Linked DNA regions of Homo sapiens: region 2 is linked to region 1. The links are contacts of gene promoters, found by promoter capture Hi-C in human tissues and cell types (Jung and others, 2019). All regions are on one chromosome and are shown on one strand. Each heading gives the region's core, a stretch centred on a gene start or on the middle of the fragment in contact. The rest is flanking DNA. Distances are from core to core; before and after follow the strand shown.

The links. Contacts are between HindIII fragments. The study calls those that stand out against the background at their distance.
Region 2: a fragment that was not itself captured here is called in contact with the fragment with the promoter of MTMR2 in region 1 in 2 of the 25 tissues and cell types used here (hippocampus and mesenchymal stem cells).

Annotation. Positions count from the first base shown.
Region 1 is chr11:95,920,344-95,927,410 of GRCh38, forward strand. MTMR2 (myotubularin related protein 2) reads right to left here and starts at 3,764. Exons shown (of 15, transcript NM_016156.6): 1 at 3,532-3,764. The coding sequence starts at 3,611. RefSeq lists enhancers at 3,742-3,791, 3,852-3,981. The HindIII fragment of the contact is 5,565 bases long and covers 3,299-7,067 here.
Region 2 is chr11:95,860,950-95,868,016 of GRCh38, forward strand. MTMR2 (myotubularin related protein 2) reads right to left here. Exons shown (of 15, transcript NM_016156.6): 3 at 4,652-4,727; 4 at 1,323-1,417; 5 at 1,043-1,153. Among named protein-coding and RNA genes, the nearest start is that of MTMR2, 60 kb to the right of the region's middle. The HindIII fragment of the contact is 3,285 bases long and covers 1,286-4,570 here.

The sequences.
Region 1 (7,067 bases), core at 2,514-5,013:
ATTGCCCACTCTGGAGTGCAGTGGTGCGTTCTTGGCTCACTGCAACCTTGGCCTCCCAGGTTCAAGTAATTCTGGTACCTCAGCCTCCCAAGTAGTTAGGGTTACAGGTGCGTGCCACCACGCCCAGCTGACGATTACTTTTTTTTTTTTTTTTTTAAAGATGCAGGATGACATAACTATAGCTGGTTAGGAAACTACTACCTGGATATCATATGAAGAATGAAATTGCCCTTTTGTGGGCAAAAGCATCAGATCTATGATGACCTAGAAGGCATAACTGGAGACAAGAGAACTCTGAAATGACTACAGATACTTAGTAAGACTCATCACATGTTTATTGTGAACTACAGATTGCACAACAGCCTGTAATCCAACTTCAATGGAGTATGTCATTTTCATTTTTTAAAATATTTTTACTTATTTTAAAAAGTCTTTCTTTTTTAGAGATGGGGCCTCACTATGTTGCCCAGGCTGGTCTCAAACCCCTAGGCTCAAGTGATCCTCCCACCTTGGCCTCCCAAGTGCTGAGATTACAGGCATGAGCCATGGCACTCGGCCAAGTATGTCATTTTCAAAAAACAATGGGCAACCACATGGATTAGTGTATCATCCTTCCTACTTCCCAAAAGGGCTTCAGACATCTAATCAATACATTTAAACATAACACATAATATTTAACTTGAGTTCATGTAATAATAAAAGTACTTAAAGAAATTAGAGATGAGTATATTACCACCTTCAGATATAAATTTGACTAAAGTTTTACTAAGCTAAAGAGAAAGACGCAGTTATATAGTTACCACTTACTAACAAACAAGGAGCATACATAATTTTTTCTATAAATAATTTTCTTTGTAGCTAAACTCAGCAGAAATTTATGTTAATGCATGTGTGAAAAACATTCTGTGACACATTTAACAATATTAACTATTATTCTGCCAGAGATATCAAAACAAATTCCAAAGGCAGTTTCCCAATTAGGCCTCTGTATAAAAACAGAAAGCATAAAAATAAACTACAATTTAAGGGAATCATTTCTGCAAAAACTGAGATAATATAGGCCAAACAGCAATAATTTTGCTTTGTCAAAGGCTAATGAAACAAAAGAAATAACTTAAACAATCTAGATAGACACTTAACATAGCTATGAGACCAAAGCAGGCCACACTGGCAATGTATTAGAGTCACCTGCGATGAAGTGTTAGCCTAGATTGTTTAAAATTAAGCTTTCTAACTAGTGTCTATAATGTATCTATTACATACTGTTGATTAAGGAGAGTGCCACAAACAGGTATGATGATTAATGAAATAAAAGATACATAGAATTTAGCAGGGAAACTTCCATACAGTAGACATTAAGTAAATGTTACTTTTCTACCTTCCAGAGGAGAGTAATGAAAGCTGGCATTCTCTTATGGAAAATAGGAATCATACTTATATTTTTGTCCAGAGAGGATTAGGCTAATCTACTATATCACAATTCTCTCGAGGAGTACTTAATTTTCTCAAATTTGTCAGTAACATAATTTTTTATAGAGAAGTTCATATACATATATAATCTTTATACTTGCTGGGCTTTCTGTTTTAGGAAATAAATATGTTCAAGTGGCACCGTTAGGTATATTAGTTTGTAATAATAAAGGACACTTATTTCGTGTAATTGCAAAAATCCAAAACAAAGGTTATTTGCAAAGGAATTATCTTTAAAATTAATATCAATGCATTCATCTTAGTATTGTCATTAAAATTTTAAAAATGACAATGTTAGAGTTCCAAGGGACCTTACAGATTTTCTAGATCAAGCTTCTTATTTTAAAAGATGAGAAAACTGTAGACTAGAAAGTCTAAATGAAAAGACCAAAGAGCTAGCTCAGCCAGAGACTTCAGCATGGGAGCTTCCTAACTTCCAGTACTTCCTTCTTTCTAACATACTGTGCTGCTTCATGTGGTTCTAACTTCTCTGCCTTGGATGAGAGTACTGGTTGCCTCTTATGCTATTCTGAGGCATAGTTGTCATTTGTAACTTTCCCATAAAATTCGAATTTTCCAACCTGTTTTCTGAATGAATTACACAACTGAACATGTTAATCCTCAGCTTTCCAAATTTCAAAGCAATAAATACAGAATTCAAAAAATACTTGATTCAAACGTGCAATATATATAATCAAACTGCAAAGAAAAATCCTCCTTTCCTGGATAATTCAGGCTACAAATTCGAAAAAAAAAAAACCATTTAGTGAGCACCTATCACATGCTGAGACTATGTTAAGTGCTGGAGATATGAAGATGATTAAGATTGCCCTCAAGTATAATAGCTTATAACCTGGTAGAAAAGGCACTTTAAGCCAACAATTATAGTGTGCTTATTAAAGACTCTGAAAAACGACTGTGCAGGGAGCTATGAGTGCATATGGCAATGTAGAATGACGGGATCAGACAGTGGTTCCCCAGTGAGGTGCTGAACATCAACAGGAAAAAAGGCAATAACTACCCATATTTAGCAGAATCCAAAATGAATTATAATAGAGCCACTTCAACTGATTGAAGGAGAAAATGAAAATTGTGTGTTTTCACACAGCAGTTATCGAATCACTCTCTAATAACAATTAGACTATTATTCAGTGGAAAAGAACCAGATTTCATCGTGGCTGCATAAAAAGCAAATACAGGTCTTATATTATTTTTTAAAAAATTTTTAAATCATTATTTTAAAATCAAAGAAAAAGACTGCATCCAAAACGCGTCTAGTTAATATTCATAAAAGCTCTCTGCAAAGCTGCATAAAGTCCTCCTCAAAATTCCAGGATAAAATTCCCATCTGTTACAAGAGAAATGACAACGTGGAGAACCAGTAGCCCAAGAAGGAAGAAAACTACCACTCATTTTGTTTTCTTAAACCTATCACTGGGGATAAAAACCACTCAGATTCCTTGATACTGACTTTCAGCTGGAAGATTTAGAAAAGAGAAGCACAGGAGACATTTTTATTTACATATTTAAGCAAAAAGGGAGGCGAGAAGAAAATCAGAGTGTAGAGAAAAGCATGAAAGAAATTAAGAAGGTGAAGCCATGAAAAGAGAGAAAAGGGCTGGGCAAGAACCCAAAAACCAAAGACATAAGAAGGGGTGGAGGAGGAAAGACTGACTTTAGGATGGTTTTGGAAAAAGTGACAGAGAAAGACAGGAAATGTGGGGAAAAGAATGGGGGCGGGGGGAACTGTCTTAAAAAAGGTTTGAGAGGGAATGAAAGACAGGAGAAAGTAATTAACTGGGACCACCTCCATCGGGGAGAAAACGAGATCGGAATATGAAAGGTAGAGGAATCGATAAAGAAGCAGCGAGTTTTAACCTCCTTTTCCTCAGCCTCCACGCCCCAGGGAGGGAGGCAGAAGTGGTTCCCAAGTCCCGGGGAAGGAATTCCGGCGTAGCCTTCAGAAACCAGAATCCGCGAATTGGGGCAACAATCCAGCAGGTCCCCGGCCCCTCTCCATCCCCTTCGGACGCTGGGCGGGGCCCTGGGCGTCCTGGTTACCTGGACAAGGAGTCCACGCTGGGCGGCCGAGCCGCCGCCGGCTGGGAGCCAAGACTCTCGCAGCTCGAGCTCTTCTCCATCGCGCGGCAGGGGCAGCACAGGGAAAGGCTGAAGCAGTCTTCGCGGCTACAGGGCGGGAGAAGCGGAGGGCGGAGTGCTACGGACCGGGGCCGCAGTCAGGCCAGCGCCGGCCCGGGAGGGAGACCGGAAGCGGCCATGTTCCCCCAGAGTGCACCGCGCCTGTAGGCTGCTGGGCAGCGGGAAGACCCCACTGCGCAGCTCAGACGCCGGCATCGACTCTCCGTGCTGGCTGTGTCCGGCCGCGCGACATCTGGTCTTGGGGAAAGGGAGGTGGCGGCTCCCAGGGTGAGGGGGTCTGGTGAAGCGGGAGGGATGAAGGACCAGACCCTTATGGAAGGAGGAGAAATCCTAGGTGTAAGAGGAATGAGGGAACACTAAACATGAGGGTCTCAGGAAGGCGATAAGGACCTGAGGCCAGGAGGATGATTTAGACAGGAATGTGGGGGTCAAGGAAAACAAGAGGACCGGATAATGAGAGAAAAGTGAGAAAGAGGTATGGGAGAGGGATTGGGGAGGATCTGATATACATGCAAAAAGAATTATATACTACTGGATGCGGTGGTGTTGGATTACCCAAGTAGAAGACAAACTTTCACCGATTTTTCCCTGCCCTTTCAAATTCCCGTGCCTAGCAGGAAGGGAGTGTGGAGGAATAGAACTGTGATAAGAGAACAGGAACTGGGTAAAGGGGAAATGCTTCTGCTAGGATTTTTCTGTTAGGATACAGGAAAGCCATAAGGACACCATAAAGGGATTTTTCTGATTGAGATTGAATCCTAATCATCTCATGTATGGGGTGTAAAATTATGCAAAGATTATTCCTGTAAAAAAAAAATCAGACCATCCTTAAAAAACTTCCTTGCTAGGATAAATTGAATTATATTGATTTAAACTAGATTTAATTTATAATGTACAACTGATGTCTTTTAAAAAACCTTATAGTTGCAGTGCAGTATTAACTTGCAAGTACATTCCCAAGAAGAACAACCTAGCTTAGTTATGTTCAGTGTAAGGTAGAATAGTTACTGATGAGTATGTGTTTAAGCACAAAAGGCTTAGCCTTTTTTGAGTTTGGCGAGGACAGACAGCGACCGATTGTTTTTATTTCCATAATTTTTAAGATACCTTAACTGGACTCTGTAGGCAAAGGGAGTAGGTAGTCAAAAACATTTTTTAACAAGCTTAAATATCTATCATGACTCATAGAAGAATTTCCTTATTTCTTCACCATCTCTACCTGCCTTCCAAAATGCTGACTCACTGTCAGCTACTTTGACTTAAATTTCCTTAGTGAAGGCTGATGAACCCTTGAATGGGAGACCTATGTACTTTCTTCCACCCAGTTCATTCGTAGCACTTTGTTAATAGAACCCTCGAAACCTTCTGCCTGATGTAACAATATGTGTATGGTTCTATCTAGTGATTAATAAAGAACAGTGTAGTAAAAGTGTAGAGACTTTGGAACCAGACAGATCTTCATCGGAATCCCGGTTCTGTCTCTACACTTGCTCTGTGCTGTGGTTAAGTTGTTTCACATCTCTAAAATGGGAATAAAATGGGAATAAAAATATCTACGTAATAGGTTGTTTTTCTCTGTGCAGAGTCGGTTGCACAGTACGGTCTCACTAAGTAGATTTATTATTACTTGTTTTTCCACTGAACTTACTGCTTGACTTCTAACCTGACTGGTAAAATGGTAACTTCTCAGAGTGAAAACACAAGCAAAGAATATCAGCTGGAAATTAATTAGTGAACTCTAATTAATTAATGAACTCTAAGAAAATGAAAAAACATGGTTAACTTGGGACCTCACCAAAAGTTATTAATTTTTCAATTTATAATCTGGGCTGTTTTTTCTCAAACTATCTGCAAGAAGGAACAGTGTTTTGTTTTTAATTTTCAAACCATCACCAACCAAAACTTTTTTAAAATATAAGAAAAATTAATCACAGTTGGTTCCATATCCTCAGATTCAACCAACCACAGATTGAAAAATTTGTAAAAATTGTAAAAAACAAAATAATACAAATAGAAGACAATACAGTATAACAACTATTTACATAACATTTACATTGTATTAGATATTATAAGTAATCTAGAGTTGATTTAAAGTATACAGGAGGGTATGCATAGGTTATATGTAGACACTAATGCCATTTTATTTAAGAGACTTGAGCATCTTTAGCTTTTACTATCCTTGGGGGTCCTGAAACCAATAACCTGCAGATACTAAGGGATAACTGCACTAGGAAAATTAAAGAAAAAGGTTTGCAAAATACAAGGCCAAATTGTTTATTAGATTTAACAGATATTACTCCTTGAAAGTTTCGTGAAAGTTCCTAAACACTTATTCTCAATATTGCGTTGATCTCATCATAGACTGACAACAGTTCATGTATGGGTACTACACCAAAAAACCATTGAGATCTCATAAATTAATAAAGTTGCAGAATACAAAATCCACATCCAAAATTAGTTTGCATTTCTATGCATCTATAATGGCCAAAAAAGAAATCAAGAAGGCAATCCCATTTACAAAAACTGCAAAACAAAAACAAACAAACAAAAACCAGGAATAAGTTTAACCAAGGAAATGAAAGACCTCTACAAGAAAAACTATAAAACTCTGATAAAGGAAATTGAAGAAGATGCAAATAAATGGAAAGACATTTCATGCTCATGGAACAGAACAATTAACATTGTTAAAATAACCATACTACCCAAAGCAATCTACAAATTCAATGTCTATCAAAATATCAGTGTCATTTTTCACAAAAAAAGAAGAAAAATTCTAAAATTCACATGAAACTAAAAAAGAGCCTGAATAGCCAAAGCAATCCTGAGCAAAAAGAACAAAGCTGGAGGCATCAGACTATCTGACTTCAAAATATAAATAAACATAAGGCTATACCAACAGCAGCGTATGGTATAAAAACAAACACACATACCAAAGGAACATAAGAGAGAATCCAGAAATAAACACATGCATTTACAGCCAACTGATTTTGGACAGACATCAAGAAAACACACTGGGGAAAGGACAATCTCTTCAATAAATGGTGCTAGAAATATTGGATATCCATATTCAGAAGAATAAAACTGGACCCCTGTATCTTACCACATACACAAATCAACTTAAGATGGATTAAAGACTAAAATGTAACACCCAAAGCTGTAAAATAACTACAATAAAATACAAGGGAACTACTTCAGGACTTTAGGCAATGATTTTACAGCTAAAACCTCAAAAGCACAAGTAACAAAAACACAAATAGACAAATGGGACTATATTAAAGTAAAAAGCTTCTGCACAGTAAAGGAAACAATCTACAAGGTGAAGAGACAACTTGTTGAATGGCAGAGAATATTTGCAAACTATTTATCTGACAAGGGAGTAATATTTAGAATATATAATGAACTAAAATATCTGAACAGTAAAAAAAAAAAAAAAGAAA
Region 2 (7,067 bases), core at 1,678-4,177, 60 kb before region 1:
GATTGGGACCATCCTGGCTAACATGGTGAAACCCCATCTCTACTAAAAATACAAAAAAAAATTAGCTGGGCGTGGTGGTGGGCGCCTGTAGTCCCAGCTACTCGAGAGGCTGAGGCAGGAGAATCCCGTGAACCCAGGAGACGGAGCTTGCAGTGAGCTGAGATTGTGCCAGCCTGGGCAACAGAGCGAGACTCCGTCTCAAAAAAAAAAAAAAAGAAAAATTATGAGAACTAGAAACAGAAAAGATAGGTGATGATGAATATAACATATTTAGTTATTTAGTTCTTCCACTACGAAGTAGTGGAACTGCTCAGAGCCTTATGTTGCTAATTTGTAAATTAAAGGTAGTAATGTCTATTGTGCCTACCTCACAGGATTTTTATAAGGCTCAAAGTGAAATCATCAATGTGGAACTATGTGGTATCCTATCAGTACTATGTGCATTAAAGATGGTTATTATTATTATTATTATTATTATTATTATTATTATTTCAGACAGAGTCTTACTCTGTTGCCCAAGCTGGAGTGCAGTGGCACTATCTTGGCTCACTGCAACATCCGCCTCCCAGGTTCAAGCAATTCTCCTGCCTCAGCCTCCCCAATAGCTGAGATTACAGGTGCCCGCCACCACGCCTGGTTAATTTTTGTATTTTTAGTAGAGATGCGTTTTCATCATGTTGGCCAGACTGATCTCGAACTCTTGACCTGATGTGATCCACCTGCCTCAGTCTCTGAAAGTGTTGGGATTATAGGCGTGAGCCACCATGTCCGGCCAAGATGATCATTATTAAAAAATAAGTTATGAATTTGTGAATATATCAAAATATGTAGACTGAACTGGGCCCAAAAGAATTAAGTCTAATTCATGAATCACCTTTTCTATTACTGCTAAATTTTGTTTTCTTCTATCAATGTCATACTAAAATAACATTTCTAATTGGAAATCCATTTTATATTTTAGAAACCAATTTCAAAACAGAGGTTCTATTTAATACAAAGCTTTTCAAACCAAAGAAAATCACATACATATTATAACATTTACCTTACACACAGTTTCTAGTCCATAAGAATTTTCACCTCGACTAGAAGCACCACCAATTTTTTCTACTCTATTTATCACACCAAGGGAAGCATCTAAAACAAATGGGGGATCCTAAAGAAGGAAAGAAAAAATAATTAAAACTGAGCAATTAATACTGTCCAATTATAGAGCTGATCAAAATCTTAATCAGAAATGCTTTAATTAGAAATGATCAGAAATGAACAAAACTAGCTACAAACAACACACTCATGTACATACAAAAATCTAATCTGACTCTTACCCGTTCCATGCTTTTGAAATATAACCTATAATTCGTGACAGTCAGAGTTCCTCGTACAGCGCCAGTGAATGGACATATATAAGTTACATCTTTGGCTGAAAAAGCAAGAAGTCCACAGTTTACTATACATTATGTGCTATTAAAACCTGCTATCTCATCTTATAAAATTGTTATGATTCCTAGACTAATTTATGCTGAAAAATAACAGAACCAGTAATTTCCAGAGACCTCAGAATCCTACAACCCAAGCTTCCATCCTTGCACTAATCTGGGGAAGAAACACAGAATTAAATGGGATAGGCTGAAAAGGTGGAGGGACTTCTCATCCCATGAGACAGAATGGAAGTAAACAAAGGGGCTACTATCCTGGCTAGATAAAACAGGTGTGGGTAGCTGCAGCAGAGACGGGTGAAAGAATACTGGTAATGGTGGTATCAACAATAAGCATGTCAAGGCACAGTCGCCATCATCTCATTGCAGTTTCTATGTAACCTCACCAATTTCCTGTCCAGTTTGTCAACATTCTTCTAAAAATGCAATGTCCAAAACATATGTTATTCCACAAACTCCTGATCTGATTAATACTTATGGGGAAAATTTTACAGGTGAAATGACACACATTTAAAATATAATTTCTTAGAAAAATAACAGTATAAGAAGAGGATATTGTACTGCTGACCAACCAATGCCAGACTTTGTAAAGAAATAATCACAAGTAATGTTTTATCAAATAAACAATGGATCTACATGGCATTATGTTTTGTAAAATATGCATTAACTGATTATGCAGGATAACTTAGGAATCAGTATCTCAAAATATTATTTAAAATGCCACAGTTCATAATTTCCAATACATGGTTTTTATATCTTAAAATATTCATAAATTCCTAGTATGTCATTATTACACCAAATCAGCAGATAAAGGAGTATCTTCATCATTCCAAGGAAGTAAGGGACAATTCTGTGGAGCAACAACTTTCTAAGACCCTTTCAACGGGCTTCTGGGAAAACTTGGGGCCATGAAATATATTTAATAAGGTATTACAACCTCCTGACTTTGCTTCTCATTCAACACTTCGAAGGACTGGCTGCTTTGTATGGAATTTGAAATGAGACTGATCTTTTCACAATCATTTCTAACCTTCAAAATAGTTCCCTTAGGAACATTTTAAGTATAAACTACTTTTTTAAATCGTTTCGAATGCATATTTCATTTAGAGGGAAGCTTTTAAAATTAAATGAACCCATCATTATACAAAAATACACAAACTTGCTTTGCACAAATAATATTTTTCCCTTATGAATTTTTACCTCAACTAGAAAAGCTTTATTCAAGGTTACTAAAACATTTCTGGATTCCTTCCACAGTCAATTTTCTTACTCATGTAAGAAAACTCAGCCTTATTATCCTATATCCCACCACAGGAATGTCATTCTCAGGCCAGTGCTTTTCTGTTACATCTTCCCCTTTATTCTAAAATCATGAGATAATATACATATAAAGATGCTTCTAAAGTTCTAAGTACAATACAAAAATTCAAGGGTTTATACCTATGTTACTATTATCATCATTAGTCTTTGCTTTGTTCTGTACCCTCTATCATTCCTCAAGAGATCATGACAATGGAGAAAAGAAGATAAATACAAGAAATTCTTAGACACTGACTGGATGTTAAGAGTCCAGAAAAGAAAAAAAGAGCAGTCTAGTACGACAACCAGATTTCTGACTTGAGTAAATGGACAGCTGGTATTGATGTCAACTGAGAGAGAGAATGCAAGAAAAAGAGTAAGTTTGGAGTTAAACGTGATGATTTCCATTTTGGAGATGTTGGGTATAAGGTTCCTATGGGATATTCAAGGATGTGTGTTTAAGATAGAGGCATTTGTTTACTTACATTAGGACAGGGGTTCACACTGGAGATAACAAATTTTGGAGTCATCAGCCAATATATGGCAAGTGATGTTACAAATTTAGATATGGTCAACCGAAAAGAGTATACAGGAGGGAAAAGGGAAATGGGTCAAGGATGAAGTCCTAGGGCGTGTTGCTATTAAAGGAAGAAGAGCCAACAAATGAGACTGAGTGGTAACTTGAAGTTCTTTAATAAAGCCATATTTCATAATGGGAGCTGCAATTACGGCATTAAGTTCAGAATAAGAAAAAGAAATTGTCACAATGCTAGATATAACCTTATTAGCTAGGTTATCTTCCTATGCCTTAGTTTCCTTCCTCACCTATAAAATGGGGTTGATGTTATTCTCAAGAATATACTCTCTGAGAATGACTGAGATAGTAAGCACTCAATAATAATAACTACTATCATTATATAATAGCCAATTCTGAAAAAATGTAAGTAGGTAGTTCAGATCAAGAGCTTGGTGTATATATAAGGCTAACTGGGGAAAAGAAAAAGACTGAGAGGTTATTCAATCAAGAGCCAAGAGCAAGAAAAGACAAATAGCATGCTAAGGACTAGGAAGCTAAATTTAGTAAATAATAATCCATTTAGAATACAGGTCCTGCCTTTGGCTTGTTTTTACACATAGAAATGACACCTAGCCAAGTAAAATTCAGCATTTTTAAAATCCTTTTTAAAAATTATGATTGGTAACAAAATGAAACATGGTAGTTATATTAACTAAGAAATCATTTACTTCATTCTTCTAACATATTACTTTATTTCTCAGAGTTTATGAGTAGATATCTGTAGATTATCACACAGATGAAACAAAACAAAAGCATGAGGAAAAAAAACACAGCTTGTAAGCTCATTTTCAGTTTCCAGTCCATATTATAAGTATTAGGCTGGGCAGAGAAGGGCATCTACATACAAACAGATGCAATGGAGATGATGTATTTCATCCAAAAATTAACCTGACTTTATTCAGAGAAGAAAGACATGAAGGAAGCAAACAGAAGAGAAGATATTTTAAGAAAAATTACTTGTATAAGGTGACAATTCAATGTTTTTATCTAGGCAACTCAATATCTGAATATAGTAATTCAAAATAATAAAATTTTCCTTCACAGGCTTCAGCAACAGTTTTAGCAAAAATCCACCTACTTTTAAAGAAAGTAAAACAAACCAGAGAAGAGGCAAAGTATAATTCAATTTGCATGTTTCCCAGGAGTTCAAACACAAACACTAGCAGCGGGTCTAGGCTTACGTTTGTAGAACACACTAAGATGCTGAGAAGACTGCAGGTAAAGAGTTCTGCCAGACAGGAGGTGTCTCTGACAGCCAGTTTATTCTCTGTATGCTGAGAGTACTGAACATTCTGCACAGTAGAACGGAGAAGGACATTAAGCAAAAAATACCATTACGGACCCATGTCTTTAATATTTTCTCCTGGAAGCAAGGGTGGTTCTTCCATTTCTGCTAACTTGTTAGACTCCCTCAGGACCTGGGGTGGGAAAGACAAAAAAAGAAACATTTTTTTATTCAAAGGCTACTTTTTCACTCATATTTCAACTGAGTATACTTGCTCTTGAAGTTATAACATCATATCACATACACTATTTTAAATCAAATTTGTTAAACTGTAGTGTTGGCATGTATAATATATGAAGTTAATGTTTTTCTAGAAAGCATTTACTGAGTGCTTAAATCATATCAAAGCACTCTACATTTGTTACACAAAAAATTGTACATGTTTTTGCACTGCATCCTAAGACAGCCTAACAATAAAAGAGGTATTATATCCTCATTTCTCAGATGAGGAAAAAGCAGCCGAAAGTGGTAATTAGTTCAAGATCACATAGTTAAAGTGCCAGTGTGTAGATCTGAACTACAGTTGAATGGATTCCAAAGCCATGCTGAAGGGCCATAGTACATTTAAACTCAGACAAAATTAAGTTCTTGTGTAGATTTAATGTTTAGAGAATTTAGAAATGATGTTGATAAATCATCTTGTTGAAAAAGAGTTTAAATAAATTCATGATCAACAAATATGACCAGGTAGTTACCTTTTGAAGGATGCTACACTATATTCCAAGAATGTGGATACAGAAACAGTTCTCTAAAGGAGTTACAACCCAGAGAACACACAGACACACCCAAATTGTCATATGCTAAATATATCCCCCATTAACTACCAAAAGCCTTCCTCACCTCCTCCCACCTCTCTCACCATCAAACAGTAAATTTCTGTCTCCAATCCCATTAATTCCTCCATCTTCCGCAATCTGGCTCACCTGCGGCCAATAACTAAGAACTACAAAGAACAAATTAACTTATTTTCAATAAATTTGCAATCTAAACAAATTCATTCTTTTGAAAGTTTAACAATTTGTTTCATAAAGTAACTTTAATGCAATACCTAAAGAAATAGTATATACACACATACATATTTTTATGTGCCACATCTAAACTTCAGAAAAGTCGTCTTTAAAGGTCATCTTTTAAACACGCTATCTAGTTGCCAGTCCCTAAATAGTCTTATGTAGTCATAAAAGAAGAGAAGAAGGAAAGAAGAGAGGAAAGGAGGACCAGCCTATGAAGATGGGGTTAAAAAGGCAAAAACTTGCCATATACAAAAATATAGACTTGGGTTCACATCCTGACTGCACCACATACTAACTTGGTACTCTTAGGCAAGGTTTTCAACTTCTCTATGCCTCATTTTCCGCATCTATAAAATGGTAACTATTATAGTACCACACATAGGTTGTTATGAAAATTAAATGGGTTAATACATTTAAAGTACTTATATCAGTGTTAACACATAAGATGTATGTAATAAGTGTTGTCTACTGTTAATAAAAGTTCAAACTAACAACTAATTGCCAGAATCTGCTAATAATTCTACTAATTATGAAAGCAACAAAATTAGACCCAAAGATAACAAAACAAATATCAGAGTATACCGAAAAAAATCAACCACGTGAAAGATTATAGAAAGGAAGATGCTTTATTCTTTCCCCGGTCTACCACCTCACTCAGAAATACAACGTTTATGTCACTTATAACGCTGGGCAGTAGTTCCCATATTGCATATGTATACCTTCTTGTGGCTGCTACAGCACTGCTCCACATGACTTCCTTTTTCTCTACATTTCTACATTCAGAAAGGACCAGCAACCCCCGGAAAATATTTATGTTATGTACAGAAGAGAAGAGGGTAGTTCTGGCAAAGGCACACAGAAACATGGGAGACACAATCCTCCTAAAGCTTCATAAAGTGAGAAAAGAGACAGGAAAACTCATGCAAGCAGCACACTTTGAGAACCACACATAGGCTTTCTTATATTCTCTCTGACCAGAATGTCAAAGAGCGAGGCAATGAAAAGAAGCAATACAAGATCCTATCTTTGTCCAGCAGAGCTGCTCTAGATGACAGACTTTTAACAATAGGCTTATGCTAAAGGTTGTATATAAACAACTAATTCTACACTGGAGATAGGAAAAGGAACTCCAACTAGCACTCAAGTGAACAGAACAGGGATGGGGCAATCTAGACCCTGTGTTTGTTGACAAACACTGATTCTAGACAAATCTATCCTTAATCAAACAGGAGAAAAGAGACTAGGAAAAAAAAGGCCTAGAAAAAAAAAAAAAAGACTTACAAAGAAAAGAGAATATCAACCCGAAACTTTAAAAAAGAAAGCAGTCTTCTGAAAATAATTCTCTATAGGCATTTGTAAAAGCATGTATAAGGTACTTGGCACACTCAAAAGGAAATAAGCCATATTTTCTAATAAACACAAAGAGAAGGCCAGGCGCAGTGGCTCAGCCTATGCTCTCA